Linked DNA regions of Homo sapiens: region 2 is linked to region 1. The links are contacts of gene promoters, found by promoter capture Hi-C in blood cells and fetal thymus (Javierre and others, 2016). All regions are on one chromosome and are shown on one strand. Each heading gives the region's core, a stretch centred on a gene start or on the middle of the fragment in contact. The rest is flanking DNA. Distances are from core to core; before and after follow the strand shown. Region 1 has its middle 65 kb from the start of SDK2. Region 2 holds the start of LINC00469 (long intergenic non-protein coding RNA 469).

What was found. The method cuts DNA at HindIII sites, captures the fragments that hold promoters and counts their contacts. A CHiCAGO score of 5 or more calls a contact.
Region 2: a contact is called between the fragment with the promoter of LINC00469 here and a fragment that was not itself captured in region 1, in 1 of 17 cell types (non-activated CD4 T cells). The highest score is 5.6, in non-activated CD4 T cells.

What each region holds. Positions count from the first base shown.
Region 1 is chr17:73,707,967-73,711,707 of GRCh38, reverse strand. No RefSeq gene overlaps it. Among named protein-coding and RNA genes, the nearest start is that of SDK2, 65 kb to the right of the region's middle. The HindIII fragment of the contact is 4,322 bases long and covers 1-3,741 here.
Region 2 is chr17:73,826,668-73,830,196 of GRCh38, reverse strand. It overlaps LINC00469 (long intergenic non-protein coding RNA 469), which reads left to right and starts at 1,660. Exons shown (of 4, transcript NR_027146.1): 1 at 1,660-1,749. RefSeq lists enhancers at 1-321, 322-823, 1,814-2,323. The HindIII fragment of the contact is 4,592 bases long and covers 1,126-3,529 here.

The sequences.
Region 1 (3,741 bases), core at 514-3,013:
ATCATCAAAGCATCATTAGTTTAAAATTATCATCCTTGGAATATTTACACCATGGAAATTGGCAAATGCCCCAAATCAAGCCCTTTTGTGGAGGACCACTGCAGCTGTGTGAGGCTGGGTGAGTGACCTATCCTCTCCAAGACCTCCTTTTAGTATATCCTTAAACAGGTTAACAATTGCACCTCCTTCACTGACTACTGTGAGGCTGAAATGAGATCATCCACAGCACGCTCACCATTCAGTGCCTGGCAGACAGAAAGTGCCCAACAATTCATAGCTGCTGTCATTTTTAGAATGTAATGATGTTATTATGCAAATAAGTAAGTACCACAGTGCGCTTGGTATAGCTACAGTGTTAGAGGCGCATAGATGAGGAAGTGGTTAACTCTGCATGGCGATCAGGGCAGCAGTCCAGGAAGGCCTTGAACCAAGCCCTGAAGAACAAGTTGAATGTGCCCGAGTAGACCAGGTAGACCAGATGGGCCAGGAAAGGAGAGGTTGTCCAAGAAGAAGGAATGGTGTGTGCAAAGGCGGGGAGGCATGGGGGGCTTGCGGAGCAGTCTGAAATGACCGGCCTACAGGGCTAGCAAGGGAGTCGTAATGAGCACCTACTGTCAGGCCCTTTGGAAACCATGATATCAACGGGTCTTCTCCATAAAGCCCTATACCCTGCCCGCTTTGCAGGGAGCACATCTAAGCTGGGAGGGGCTACATGCTTTGTTTGCTTTGCTTTGCTTTGCTTTGCTTTGCTTTGCTTTGCTTTGCTTTGTAGGGGAGCACACCCAAGCTGGGAGGGGCTACCGTCTTTGACCACAGAGCAGGTCAGCAGCTGAGAAGAGCTGAGCCTGACTCTGTTCTGTCCGACTCTAGGACAGAACAGGGAGAGGACTCTGTTTCACACCAGCCTCCAGGATGGCCCACCTCTCCAAAGGCGGTGGAAACTATCTCCAGGAATCCCTGGCTGACAGAGCTCGAGGAGGGGTGGCTGCTGACCTCCGGCACCCCAAGCCTCCCAGTACCAGGAGCATTGGCCACTCCCAAGATTCTCAGATGCATGTCCCATTGTCCCTGAGGCTTCCACAGCTGGTCCTCACTACCCCATTCCCTTCTAGCCCTTTCCAGATGAGAGTGGCCAGGGTTCATGGTCATGCTCACATCCTCCCTGGACACACACTTTTATTCTGCCTCCCTCTGATGGCTGGCATAGGATGACACAGCCACTTAGGGAATAACTGAAGAGACGAGTCATAATAGATATTCTCATTAGTCCATTCTTCCCCGCCAAGGCCTCCCTGGCCGTTCACCTCTCCGCCTGTCTTCCCTTGCTAGCAAATTTATGTCATTCCTCCATTGGCCAGAAGGGGTCACTGCTTCCATATGCCCCTAAACTTCCCGGGTAACAGGCTCCTCTCCGCCCCACTTCCAGCGGTGCAGCCGGCCGTGCTCCACACCCCACCCACCAAAGCCTGTGTCACCTTCAGAGAGACTCGCTGCTGAGTTCCAGCAAGCGAGGATGACGGACAAGCCTGCGTGCCAGCAATGCTCTCATCGTGTAAGCCAACCAACTGCCCTTTGCTGGGCAGCGGTCAAGGTCTGCAGATGGAGCTTGGCCATTGTTACAGCTATTTAAAATCATGTTTAAATAATATGATGTGATCATCTCTAATGCCATCTTGATCACCACTTAACACAGGCGGGGGAGATGAGGCAAGCTCAGCCTCTTTCATACACCTTTGATGTTCTAAGGAGAGCCAAAACCAAGACAGGTTGGAATCAGCTTCTTTTCTTCTGCTGGAGGCCAGGTCTGGGTCAGGGTGTGTAAATTACCAGCAAGCAGTCAACAGTCCCCACTCCTGTGCCTGTTGAAGGCATAACTCATGGAACCCAGTTCTCTCCCCCGGGAGGCCAGGGGCAGACCCACATCTGGAGTCTGCATGAACACAGAACTTCTGGAGTCATTGCTGTTTAGTCATGCTAGAATTTAAAATGTCTAGATTAGCCTTTCTGGACTGAAAAAATCATGGAAAAGTGGTTCTCAAATCATGAATCTGGGCCTAAAGCATGGGGCAAGTACATCCTAGTCTGTGCAGAACACACTGAGAGCTATTGAGGTATTGGAGTTACCTGTGTAATGCCACGCTAAATCACATCCCATTTTATATGAGATTCAGGTATTGACGATAGGATGATAAGTGCCAAAAGACTCTACAAAAATGTGGAAAACAACAGAATAATCAAAGAAATTATATGTACTAATGTATTCTATCTGCAAATTGAGGAAAGACAGTCATTATCCCATTAACCTGTAGAACAGACTCCTCGGTTCAGCGTATAGAACGCAAGTCAGTTCAGAGCAGAAACTAGGAACTACAGCATCAGAGAAACAGCCTGGAATTTGAAGTCAGGAGATAGGATTCTGGTCCAAGTCCTGATAGGAATAACACATGACCTTGGACAAGATGCTTAATGTCTGCGCCTCAGTTTCCTCAACTGTAAAACAGGGACCATAATGTCTACTCTGCTTGGCTACTATGAAAATTAGGAGCAACAACAGAAGCAAACATGCTAAGTCCTGAATCCCTGCTTCTTGGACCTGGCTGAGATCGGGAAGTAGTAATCCTGAGCTGAAGCAGAGAAGATGTGTCATCTCCCAGTGCAAATGAGAAAACCCAGTGGGTACCAAGGCTGACCAGGACACTGGTACTGTCCATTTTCTCCAGAGGGAAGTTGGGGCTATTCAGAGAGAGTCCCATCCATCTCCCATCTTTGCACTTCTTTGTATTTTTCTTCCTCCACTCTTTCGGTTCCCTCCTCCATCCTCTAAAGACAGAAGAGTCTCCAGTTAGTATCAGGTCAGTATATGCTCATCTGGGCAAGTGGGAGCCAGGACATGTACCTGGGCTGGGATCTGGAACAATGGTGGAGTGCACAGCAGAGGGAAAGGGCTTGCCCATGGCTACATAGCACAGAACTGATGGGGACCAAAAGGACACTTTTCCAGGAGCAAAGCTAGAGTTGAGAACGAAATAGCAAGTCAGATGATGTTTCAGTCTGAGGAGACAGGCAGAGAACCTGGTGAAAGGCATGGGCTGGGCTAGCAGCCAGTGCTGGTGAGAAGCAGAGGGCAGGCTCAGATAGGTGGGTGGGGAGAGCTGAATGCAGGGGAAGCCCTCCAGGAATGGTGTAGCAACCCAGGGTTCCAGGTATGAACAGTAATGGATGGGAGCAGGTACCAGAATATTGGCGAGAGCAGATGCATAAGAGGACAGCTTAGGCAGAAAGGCGTGGACAACCCCAGTACCTGCAAGGAGGGACCTAGGGAAACCATGACTCCAGTTCCCTCTCCTCTTGCTTTCTGATCTCCAGTCATGCCTTCCACTGGTCTACCCCAACTGAAACCAGAAGGCAAAGCAGCCCCTTGAACATCTCTATGAAAGTCAGCTGGCCAGGCGTGGTGGCTCACGCCTGTAATCCCAGCACTTTGGGAGGCCAACGTGGGTGGATTACCTGAGGTCAGGAGTTCGAGACCAGCTGACCAACATGATGAAACCCCATCTATACTAAAAATACAAAAAAATTAGCCAGCGTGGTGGCGGGCACCTATAACCCCAGCCACTCGGGAGGCTGAGGCAGGAGAATCGCTTGAACCTGGGAGGTGGAGGTTGTGGTGAGCTGAGATGGCACCACTCCATCCTGGGTGACAGAGCGAGACTCCATTTCCAAAAAGAAAGAAAGAAAGAA
Region 2 (3,529 bases), core at 411-2,910, 120 kb before region 1:
GATGGCCTCGTGACAACAGTGGCAGAGGCTGCAGCGATGCAGCTACAAGCCAGGGAACCCGGAGGATTGGTGGTAACCACCTGCAGCTGGAAGAGGCAAAGAGGATGCTCTCCCACAGCCTTCAGAGGGAACAGGCCCCTGGCAAGACCTTGACTTTAGAGCTGGGCCTCCACAATGATGAGAGAAGCCATTTCTGTTGTTTGAAGGCACCCAGTTGATGGCAATTGGTTACAGCGTCCACAGGAGGCTGAAACAAGAGCGAAGACTGTTCCAGCAGAGGGAGGAGCCAGCGCAGATGACTTCACGAGAAAGTTCCTAGGCCTGCTGGAGCAGCGGCCGGGACGCCCAAAGGAGCGGGAGCCCTACAGGCAGGCAGGGATGGTCCCAGAAGGAGTTGGTGCCCAGCCACAGGGTCTTGTAGACCATGGTGATGATGTTTGTTTTATTCTAAGAACGCTGGGAAGTCATTGAAGGATTTTACAAGAAAGATGAAACATGATTTGAAGTTCATTTTTGAAAGATCGCATCAGCTGCTCTGTGAAGAGGAGTTTTGAAAGAGGCAAGAGAGGAGGCAGGACAGCCACTGTGGCCTGCAGGTCCTCAAACGATTACACAGAGTTACCGTGTGACCCACAGTTCCACTCCTCTGTATAGACCCACGAGAAACGAAAACATATATTCATACAGAAACCTGTACAAAATGTTTAAAGCAGCATTATTTGTAATAGCCCAAAGATAGAAACGACATAAATGTCCACCAATGAATCCATACAATGAGGTAGTTATTTGGCCATAGAAAGGAATGAAGTGCCGATAGGACAGCATGAATGAACCCGGGAACCATCACGATAAGTGAAGGAAGCCATTCACAAAAGACCACGGATTGTATGATTCCATTTAGACAAAATGCCCAGAAGAGGCAAATCTCTAGAGACAGAAAGTAGATTACTAGTTGCCTAGGGCTGTAAGGGTGAGCGTTGGGGAGGGGAGATAGCTGAAGGGTCAGAGCTTCTTTTTGAGGTGATACAAATGCTGTAAAATGGACCACGGTGACGATTGCAGCTACATGGAATATACTAGCAACCATTGAATTGTATACTTTTTTTTTTTAAGTGAAAGCAAGCTTATTAGAGAAGTAAAGAAACAAAAGCATGGCCACTCCATAGGCAGAGTAGCCTGAATTGTCCACTTTAAATGGGAGAATTACATAATATATGAATTACATTTCAATAACGCTGTTTAAAAGAAAAAAAAAAGAGTGAAATCTCAGAGGAGGCCACTGAGCACTCTGGTGGAAGAAAATGGTGACTTAGGCCAGGGTCATAGAAGTAGAGACAGCAAGAAGGGATGAAAACAGTGGATTGTGGAGGCCGAATAGACAACCGATGAATAGGTCAACACCTGCTGTCCATCTGTACGAGGGAATATTATTCAGCCATAAAAAGAAATGAAATGAACCTTGCTGCAACATGATGTTAGGTGAAATAAGCCAGACACAAAGGCCCCATATGGAATGATGTCACTTACACGAGGTTTCTACAATAGGCAAATTCATAGAGACAGAAAGAATGGAGGTTACCAGGAACTGGGAGGAGAAAAGAATGGGACATTATTATCTCACAGTTCCAGAATTTGTTTGGGATGATTTAAAAAAAAAAAAAAAAGCTCTGGAAATAGATCATCAGGATGGTTGCACAATGTTTTGAATGTAAATGCCACTGAATTGTACACCTTAAAAGGGCTCAAATGGTAAATATTATGCTATGTATATTTTACCATGATGAAAATAAACGTACAAAAGTGAGACAGCAGTGAGTCTAGGCCTCCCTTTTAAGAAGCGATGGCATCAAAGAGAGCAGAGGAAGAGAGATGGAAGTTAGGAAGGGGTTTTTCAAAGAGCAGATTCACGGGAAACGATTCATTCGTGCAGGAGAGAAAGGATGAAGGAGGAGCGGGGTCCCTTGAATGTCCACAGGCAGAAGACGAGGGCAGAAGGGGAGGAGGTTGTCTTTGTGGCGGACAGAGGAGCTGTGAATAGGGAGGGAAACAAGGGTGTGCCTTCCGTTTACTCAGCACAGGAAGAAGCAAGGCGAGGAAGAACAGGCTCCTTTTTGAAATGCAAAAGCCTGTTCTTATCTAAACACTCTTGCATAAGACAAACAAGAGCGCTACCCAGTTGGTGACTTGGGACAGGAATGCCTGCCACCCTCTTAAACGTTCTCTCCCCTCCCCTAGCCTAGACTGAAGACCTCGGCCTCCAGCTTCTCTCCCAGACCCTTTCTTGGCTGGATGAGGTCACTCACCCCTTTTGAAAGCTCCACAGGCATTTCTGGACCAAGTTCCCTCACTCTTTTAAATGGTTCTGTAATTGCTTCATTCGCATAAACCTGCCCTCCTGGGCATCTGAACAGCCCCAGGGCAGGGCCTGACTGCAGAGCCAGCTTCCTTACGCCAAGGCCCTCGTGCCTGCGTCCCTCCTCGCCTTCAGCCATGAGGTTGCCTGGCCAGCGGTGGGGGTCGCCTGGATCGTGGGGATGTTCCCCCCACCCACCTGGCCCCACCAGTGAAGGGCCCCAGCTGACACCATCTCTCTTGTTTCCTGTTTTCCTGGGTCAGACCCAGCTGGAGGTCTGCAAATTCTGAAGCAGTTCTCAACCCTGGGTGCACATTTTAATCATTTTTTACAAAATACGAATGCCTGATGTCCAGCCCTGACACTGGTCTGCTTGGTCTGGGGGTGAGGCCCTGGAACGGATGTGTTTAGATTTCCCATGAGACTCTGATGTGCAGCCAGGGTACCAACCTCTGCTCTAAAGCAGGTGAGATTGCCCTGGGGACTTCATTAGAATCAGTGCCCAATTCCTCCACCCCCGCAGAGATTTCGCTTCTGGAAGTCCAGAGTCGAGGTCCAAGAATCTGTGCATTTTAACAATACAGCCCCCAGGGGAGCTTGATGAAGGTCCCTTGGGAAGTTCAGGGCATGGTGCAGGGGACACTGTCTCTCTCTCCTTCCCTCTCATCTGCATCAGCTCCCCAGGCAGGTGGCACTTTCTCTGGACAGGTCTGGAGTCAGGGCTGCAAGGCTGGTTTATGCCTGGAGGTCGGGGGATGATGTGAGGTGTGCATAGAGAGAAGCCCCTGTGAGGAACGGGGACCACTCCTGCTCACCCACATCAGTGACAGCCCAGCCTGGGGCTGGCCCTGGAAGGCCAAAGAGTGAACAGGTCTGGGGGCTGGTGCTGGGTTGAGCTCAAGGGCCTGGGGCTGGGGTCTCCATTCCAGATTCCTCCTTCCCTCTGTCACTTCAAGTACCATCAGAGCCACCTGGGGATTTTGTCCTGAGTCACTCTGAGGCAGAGCAGGTGAGGCTGTGCTGGGGAGGAACATGGGGGCCTGAGCCCCCGACTCCTCCCCATTCCCCCACCTGCCCTGCTTCAAGGACTTGTCTAAACTACACAATGCCAGGCCGGCGCTCCCAGCTTGGGCTCTCACCCCAGGTCCCATTGAGAAGGTGGAGAAGGGTCAGGAT